3 separate regions of the Homo sapiens genome follow, and regions 1 and 2 are each linked to region 3. Evidence: promoter capture Hi-C in 16 types of primary human blood cells and fetal thymus (Javierre and others, 2016). All regions are on one chromosome and are shown on one strand. The core of a region is centred on a gene start or on the middle of the fragment in contact, and the rest is flanking DNA. Distances in the headings are between cores, read along the strand shown. Region 1 overlaps PRPF19 (pre-mRNA processing factor 19). Region 2 overlaps TMEM109 (transmembrane protein 109). Region 3 holds the start of DDB1 (damage specific DNA binding protein 1).

Region 1 (2,700 bases), core at 186-2,685, 440 kb before region 3:
TAACAGACATGGGACACTTTCTTTCACTTGGACACCGAGAGGCCATAATACGGTTATTAACTGGCCTAGTTTCAATATTGTTGTGTCTAAGGAAATAGGGAAGTCTGAGAGGGAGAGAGATGGGGAACGGCTGGTGGGTGGAGTGGTCAGAACACACACAGCATTTCATTTATCAAATAAATTCAGTAACTTTTATGGGCACATTTCATGGTGCCCCCCCGCCCAACAATTACAATAGCAACATCAAAGATCACTAACGGACACAATAAATCATGAAGAAGTTTGAAATACTGTAAGAATTACCAAAATTTGACACACAGACACAAAGTGAACACATGTTGTTGGAAAAATGGTACTGACAGACTTGCTTGGGGCAAGGTTGCCAAAAACCTTCAATTTATAAAAAGCAAAGTATCCATAAAATACAATAAAGCTAAGTGCAATAAGACAAGGTATGCCTATACTATACTTTTTTTGGTATTAAATATACTCTTCCCACTTATAAAAAAAAGTTAACTGTAAAACAGCACCAAGCAGGCCCTTTCAGGAGGTATCCGAGAAGAAGGCATTATCATCATAGGAGATGACAGGTTTATGCATGTTGGTGCCCCCGAAGACCTTCCGGTGGGAAAAGATGTGGAGGTAGAAGACAGTGATGTTGGTGCTATGGTTAGGCTTTGTGCCGCCACCCAAATCTCATCTTGAATTGTAGTGCCCATAATCCCCACGTGTTGTGGGAGGGAGCCAGTGGGAAGTAACTGAATCATGGGGGTGGTTACCCCCATGCTGTTCTCATGATAGTGAGTTCTCACGAGATCTGATGGTTTTATGAGGGGCTTTAGCCCCTTTGCTCAGCATTTGTCTCTCCTGTTGCCATGTAAAGAAAGACATGTTTGCTTTCCCTGCTGCTATGACTGTAAGTTTCCTGAGGCCTCCCGAGTCACTGTGAGTCAATTAAACCTCTTTCCCTTATCAATTACCCAGGCAGTTCTTCATAGCAGTGTGAGAACGGACTAATACAGTTGGTGATCCTGATCCTGTGTAGGCCTAGGGTAATGTGTGCTTGTGTCTTAGTTTTTAACAAGAAAAGTTTAAAAAGTAAAAAATAAAAATAAAAAAATTAGAAAAAAGCTTATAGAACAAGGATGTAAAGAGAGACAATATTTTTGTACAGCTGTACAATGTGTTTTAGTTTTAAGTTAAATGTTATTACAAAAGAATCCATTTTTTTAAGTTTATAAAGTAAAAGTCAGCTAAGGCTTATTACTGAAGAAAAAGTTTTTTATGAATTTAGTAAAACCTAAGTGTACTGTGTTTATAAAGTCTACAGCAGCGTACAGTAATGTCCTAGGCCTTCACATTCACTCACAACTCACTCACTGAAAGCAACTTCCAGTCCTGCAAGCTCCTTTCATGGCAAGCACTATACCAGTGTACCATTTTAAAAAAATCTCTTATACCTTATTTTTACTGAACCTTTTCTATGTTTACACTTGTTTAGATACACAAATACTTACCATTGTGTTATAATTGTATTCACTACATTTAATATGCTGTACCGGTTTGTAGCCTAGGAGCAATAATAGACTATACTAAGGTTATAGCAATAGTCTTGGCGTGTAGTAGGCTACACCATTTAGATATATGTAAGTTCACTCTACAATGGTCGCACATGACGATATCACCTAACAAGACATTTCTCAGAACATATCCCCATTATTAAGTGATATATAAACTGTATAAGCTTCAATCATCTGACCCTTCTGCAGATCTAATATAATGTGGGCCTCCCGTGCATATGCACGTAATTAAAATGGCTCTCCTCCTGTCACTGTCTAATGTTCATTTATTTTAGATTCAGTTATCAAAACTTCAGAGGGACTTTTCTCTCCCTTTAGTAACCTGCCCAATGCCACAGGGCATGGAAGTGGCAGAACAAGCACTAGCATCTACTGCCATGCAGTCTGACTCAGTTGCTTCCTTAGTCATAAAGCTCTGCCTCAGGTGGTAACAGAAAGCTGCTTAGGTAAATTCATGCAAGCCCTAGAAATTCCTAACCCAGTGAGGCTTCCCTCCGGGCCTGGGCACCTAGAGAGATCCCAGGAGCCCAGGACCAGCCTCTACCTGTAAAGTGAAGAATCTCCGTCCATTGTTTGCAGATGTAGATCTGGACATCCGTGCCCCCAAGAGCCAGGTAGGTACCACTCTGGTCAAAGATCAGTGACTTTACCTGCCAGAAATAGAAAGAGAGAAGGTCACACAAGGGGAACAGAAACTATGGGGCAGTTGCGGATAAGCAGAAGCAATTAGATTAATTCAATAAATAATTGACAAACAAGGAGACACAATGGAAAGCTGGGCGGAGGGGGAAGGGCACACCTCAAAGTTGTTATCCAGCTGCAAAGTCTTAAAGTTCTTAAGCTTGCGCAGATCCCAGAGCTTGACAGAGGAGTCATCAGCCGCTGTAGCCAGGTAGTAACCATTCTCAGAGAAGGCGATGCTAGTGATGGGGCCCGAGTGGCCAGGGAAGTTGGCCACATTAGTACGTTCCTACAGTGGCGGTGGGTAGTAAAATACGTCACCCACAGATCATGAGAGGAAGAAAATGGGGCTCACCAAACTCCTACCTGAGATGTCCCTCACGTCCTTCCAGGAAGGACAGCCAGCGGGACCCCCCAGACCACACCATCATATCACACA
Region 2 (2,700 bases), core at 2-2,501, 410 kb before region 3:
CATTATATGGCAGTAATCCTACTTGTGTGCTATTTTTAAGTTGTTTTTTATACCAGCTGTATCTTAAGTAGATTATAAGCTCCTTGGGACAGAGCCTTTATAGAGTCTTATAATACTTTTATGCCTATAGCACCTAAGATACAGGGACAGGCCTTCAGATTTTTAGAACTGGCACAAACCTTAGAGAGATCTTCTCGCCAACTCTAAAGTGTTGAATAATACTTGCTGGTTAATTAATATGCAAGTGGTAAAGAATGTGAAAGAGGAACCTGTGAGTCAGATGGTTGTGCCCAGCTTCAGTTGGAAGTCCCAGTCCTTCCTCTCCCAGCTAACAGCACTTTCTTTCCAGGGTTAGTTTGGTGCTTGCTTGGGGTAGGGGTGGAGAAGGATGTTGGGATAATCAGAGCTGAGAGGGTGAGTGTGTCTACCATGGCACTCAGCTCACTGTGCTTCTCTCCTGGCAGACCCAGTCATGGCAGCCTCCAGCATCAGTTCACCATGGGGAAAGCATGTGTTCAAAGCCATTCTGATGGTCCTAGTGGCCCTTATCCTCCTCCACTCAGCATTGGCCCAGTCCCGTCGAGACTTTGCACCACCAGGCCAACAGAAGAGAGAAGCCCCAGTTGATGTCTTGACCCAGATAGGTCGATCTGTGCGAGGGACACTGGATGCCTGGATTGGGCCAGAGACCATGCACCTGGTGTCAGAGGTAAGGAAGGTAGTCCCTGTGTGACTACACACATTAAGGAAAAATAAAAGAAGAAAGGTTGGTAATGGCCACCTCATCTTAGTTCCACATCCTCTCTGGTGCAGAGAGCCCCAAATTCCACAAAAAGAAGCCACACAGCACTTGTCTTTGAATTCCTCGTTATTTGATTGCTGTCCTAGGGCCTTTTAGCTCCACCCCTATCCTTTCCTGGCTCCTGCCCTTTCCTTGCCAGAAAGGCTGGGAAATGAGCCATCTTTATAAGCCCATGTTACTGGGTGACTGTAGAGTCTCACTTTGGTCTAAATCTGACCTAGAATCTCGAAATGGCAAAATATCAAGTCCTGAATCCATTCCTTCACCTGCAGAAGTGGGTTGAGCTTATTGGGAGCCTAAGGCAGGGTTATCTTTTTTTACCTGGTGGCATCCCAAGCATGGTATCACATACTTTTGATAGGCTGGACTGAAGGGCTGAGACAATCATTTATTAAATCCATAATATAGTATAGCTGATAGACTCCTTTTTCACTGGAACATCCTATCCCTTTACAGATGTTCTCCACGCACCTTCATGACTCCCTGGACAGCTAGCAGGCCTCCAGTTTTATAGGGTGACTACTAAAAGTATTTGATTGTCTCCGTCATTCACACACAAGTACACCTACTACTCCCTCCAAAGTATCCCAGCAAAGCAGTTAAATTATGTCCCAGATGCCCTAGTTTCCAGTTCAGGAAGGAGAGACAGCCTGTTGGCCATCCCTGTAGACTAGAAGGTGGATGTGGAAGGGACCCCTCAGCCAGGCCCAAGGCCCCTACCCTCTGACCCAGGCCTGTCACCACTGGGTGAGAAACAGGTCTGAGACATTCCTGCAGTTCTTGCCTGGACAGTGGTGATCAGGCGTGAAGGCGAGGACCGTTGTTCATTATGAACTCATCTCGCTCCGTGCTCTTTCCACAGTCTTCGTCCCAAGTGTTGTGGGCCATCTCATCAGCCATTTCTGTGGCCTTCTTTGCTCTGTCTGGGATCGCCGCACAGCTGCTGAATGCCTTGGGACTAGCTGGTGAGTGTTCGAGTGCTGGGTAGTCAGCCAGAGCTTTGCCTGTACTTTCCTACTTGTGGGAGTTCATCTTTGTCAGGGTCTAGCCTTTTCCCCAAGCTGCTTAACCCTTCCCAGGATTCTGCAGAGACATGGCCAAAGAGCAAGCCAAGAACTACCATGGCCAGGTGTGGTGGCTCCCGCCTGTAATCCCAGCACTTTGGGAGGTCAAGGCAGGAGGGTCACTTGAGGCCAGAAGTTTGAGACCAGCCTGGGCAATATAATGAGACCTCGTCTCTATAAAAAATTAGCCAAGCATGGTGGCGTGTGTCTGTTGTCCCAGCTACTTGGGAGCTGAGGTGGGAGGATCGCTTGAGCCCAGGAGGTAGAGGTTGCAGTGAGCCGGGATCACGTCACTGCACTCCAGCCTCGGCGATGGAGCAAAACCCTGTCCCACCCAGACCCCCTAAAAAAGAACTTCCGCCACCACGTGCCAGTTGTTCACTTCCTATCAGGCATCGTGCTGAGCTGTAGTATCTCATTTAATTGCCAGCCACAGTACAGGGAGGCAGTAGAATTGTTCCCGTTTAGTAAATGAAACTGCAGCTCAACAGAAGCAAGTAATCTACTCCAGGCCTCACAGCCAGCAAGAAACAGAGCTGAGATTCCAACCCATATCACTCTGAGTCTGCGAGAACGGCTTATTCCTTTGCAATGTGCCTAGCACCTCCCACCCTTTTAGCTCTTGCCCCGCTCTCCCCTCACCACTTCTCCAGGTTGGCTGACTCTGTGACTCTCTTGGCTTCCAGGTGATTACCTCGCCCAGGGCCTGAAGCTCAGCCCTGGCCAGGTCCAGACCTTCCTGCTGTGGGGAGCAGGGGCCCTGGTCGTCTACTGGCTGCTGTCTCTGCTCCTCGGCTTGGTCTTGGCCTTGCTGGGGCGGATCCTGTGGGGCCT
Region 3 (2,700 bases), core at 71-2,570:
ATTCTCATTTACTTCACATACTTCTCCAACTCCCTCCAGCTACTCCCCTTCTTGCCAAATCCGGCACCTCAAAGAGTCTCAGTTCATGCATTCAACAAAGCTACTTCCCTAATCAGACTAAGAAAACTGGACTGGACCTAAGAGCCGTGTGTCCTCCAAATGACAATGACTGCGTAATCCCTTCTCATGCCTCTTGCCCCTCCAATTTTACTCTATTACAGTTACAGTGGCAGGCTCTAATTGAGAATGCCGGAGAAAGTGTTCACTTCTTCCAGTCTTCATCTAAAGTCTCACAAAACTTTTATCTGACAGACCAAGTCAAATGAAGAAGTCCCAGAGCTTTATATGAAAACACTGTTTTGTCCACACCCCCTGCCCTCCTGGCAGTCTACCAATACCTCCATCCACACTCAGCTACCTCCAACTCTGAACAACAGTTTTGTTTTGGAATCATGATTAGGGTGTATATAAACATGCAAGCTTGGGGTCTGCATATTCAGCTGAGAATGTGGGTTAAGATGACTCTTCCCGGGTTCTGAACATCGGTGTCCTTAACAATCCAAGCGCATCGTCAACAAGGCAAACCCAGCACTGGGCCAGGCAAACCAAACCCTCTTCTCCAGCAGGGCCCTCATGTAAACAACAGCCCCAGGCAAAGGGGTTAGCCTGAAGAGGGCTCCTCTCCCTCTGTGGGATAATGCGGGCATTCCTCACATCCCTCCACCTCCTGGGCCCCCCAGACTTCCCCACAGGAAAATCTTGACCCCAAAGTCGTCATTACCACCTCCCCTTTTCCTGGCCACAGAAAGCCAATCTCCGGGCCCAAACGACACCGCACAACCAACTCACACTCCTCTGTCTCACTGGGCCCGCCCTGTTCTCGAGGCCGAATGACCTCCCCAGGACGAAAGGGGACCCTCGAGAGCGGCTTCCAACCCCCAAAAAGCGCGTACAGGGACGACTCTTTCGAGGTCGCGGTGCTGGGGGAGGTTCCTCGGCCGCCAGCGCCTTCCATTCGCCGGGCCCACTCCTGCCCGGCCGCCCCCGGGGCGGCGGGCCTCCCTAGGCCGCGGCTCCCCCCAACTCCCTCACTCGCCGGGGTCTCCGGCCCCGGCAGCCTCACCGGTCACGCAGCCGTTCACGGCGGTGGGCTTCTGGGCCGTTACCACGTAGTTGTACGACATGTCGAGGCTTGGAGCGGCCCGTCGGGACTCGAGCGCGACACTAGAAAGAGGGACACAAGCGAAAAGACAGGTGGCCCCCAACAGCGCGCAGCGAACTCCACTGCCGCTGCCTCCGCCCCAGAGACACGTTGCAGGCCAGAGCGGCCGGGGCGCGGGGCATCACGGGACGGCCTCACCTGGCCTCTTGGAGGACTCCCGAAGCCCGAGGCCGCCAACCGAAGGAGGCCCCGCCCCCGGAGGCACCGCCTCGCCTCTTTCCGCCAGCGCCCGCAGGACCCGGATGAGAGCGCACGCTTCGGGGTCTCCGGGAAGTCGCGGCGCCTTCGGATGTGGCGGATGCGGCCGTGAGCCGGCGGGGGAGGTGCGCCAGTGTCCTCCGAGCTCGCCCGCAGACTCCCCACCCCGTTCCGCGCCCTTTGCCCTTCCCCGCATCCAGTCCTCCTTCCGTTGCTCCAGGAGCCCTCGGGCTGTTCCTCCTTTGGGAACGGGAAGGACTGCGGAGGCATAGAGAGGGAAGGGAGACCGCGATTCGTGCATATCCCAGACTAGAACCTTGCCTGCTTTCCTTTCACTGTCTCAGTTCCTCCAGATCCAGCTGGTGCCCTCGCCTGACGTTTGAACGACCACCTGCTCACCTCCTCCCTTTTGCGCGTTGATTCTTCAGACTTCAAAGGGCCCACCGGTCTGCTTGCCCAACGTTATTAGTGCCCCTATTGCTCTACAAATTCGAACCTCAAACACAAAACCAGTATTTCTCCGTAGGGAACCTTAATGAGCCAGGAGAGCCGTCAGCCCTGCAGCCTCCAGGGTACCCCACATCAAACAGGCTCCCCGGGAACAAGAGGAATACCACGTGGCTTGGCACACTCGCAGAATGCCAGAGAGGAGCCAACCCCCATTTTACAGATGAGGAAGCTGAGGCTTAGGGAGGAATTGGTTTACCTAAGACCCTCCCCACAACCCCAAGTAGGCTGAGGCAGAGCTATGTTGATTCTTCCTATTGTGCACCCACACAGAGGCCAACACGCTGCTGAACCAGGCTGAACTGAGGAAAAGCTAGAAAGTCATCGTGGTTTACATCTTGCCTTTCCCATAGCAGAGACTCTGCCTGACTTTGGAGGCACTGAATTATCAGTAGTAAAAACACACTCTGTAGAAAAACTAGACATTGGTTTAGATTCTGGCTGTTACCTGTATTACCTTGGACAAGTCCCTAGAGCTCTCTGAGTCTGTTTCCCAGAAGTAAAATGGGTCACAAACCTGGCTAGCTCCCCCCATTCCCTTCCCTTTTGGTGCCAAGGCCAGTGAGGGCAAGCGTGTGACGAGCTTTGTTAACTTTTTCGCTGCATGTGATGCCCGTGTAAAAGATAGTTATTCTGAGGATCACTGTCCTTTAGTGATGAAGTGGGTGCTGTTCCTGGACATAAAGGCAGACCTGTGCTTGACATGGATTGATCTGTCTTCTGGCAGTGAAGTGCAGGCATGAACCTTGGTCAGCCCCACACTCTTCTCCATC

What was found. The method cuts DNA at HindIII sites, captures the fragments that hold promoters and counts their contacts. A CHiCAGO score of 5 or more calls a contact.
Region 1: a contact is called between a fragment that was not itself captured here and the fragment with the promoter of DDB1 in region 3, in 3 of 17 cell types (total CD4 T cells, activated CD4 T cells and non-activated CD4 T cells). The highest score is 6.4, in total CD4 T cells.
Region 2: a contact is called between a fragment that was not itself captured here and the fragment with the promoter of DDB1 in region 3, in 3 of 17 cell types (total CD8 T cells, naive CD4 T cells and non-activated CD4 T cells). The highest score is 7.2, in total CD8 T cells.

The regions. Positions count from the first base shown.
Region 1 is chr11:60,895,722-60,898,421 of GRCh38, forward strand. PRPF19 (pre-mRNA processing factor 19) reads right to left here. Exons shown (of 16, transcript NM_014502.5): 14 at 2,380-2,550; 15 at 2,125-2,230. Among named protein-coding and RNA genes, the nearest start is that of PRPF19, 9.5 kb to the right of the region's middle. The HindIII fragment of the contact is 613 bases long and covers 1,130-1,742 here.
Region 2 is chr11:60,919,222-60,921,921 of GRCh38, forward strand. TMEM109 (transmembrane protein 109) reads left to right here. Exons shown (of 4, transcript NM_024092.3): 2 at 465-709; 3 at 1,665-1,767; 4 at 2,553-2,700. The coding sequence starts at 473. The region is part of intron 1 of LOC124902676 (a long non-coding RNA gene); the gene reads right to left. Among named protein-coding and RNA genes, the nearest start is that of TMEM132A, 3.9 kb to the right of the region's middle. RefSeq lists an enhancer at 1-815. The HindIII fragment of the contact is 2,902 bases long and covers 1-2,700 here.
Region 3 is chr11:61,331,785-61,334,484 of GRCh38, forward strand. It overlaps DDB1 (damage specific DNA binding protein 1), which reads right to left and starts at 1,321. Exons shown (of 27, transcript NM_001923.5): 1 at 1,124-1,321. The coding sequence starts at 1,184. TKFC (triokinase and FMN cyclase) reads left to right here and starts at 1,444. Exons shown (of 18, transcript NM_015533.4): 1 at 1,444-1,545. RefSeq lists enhancers at 883-1,405, 1,406-1,928 and a silencer at 1,324-1,583. The HindIII fragment of the contact is 9,653 bases long and covers 479-2,700 here.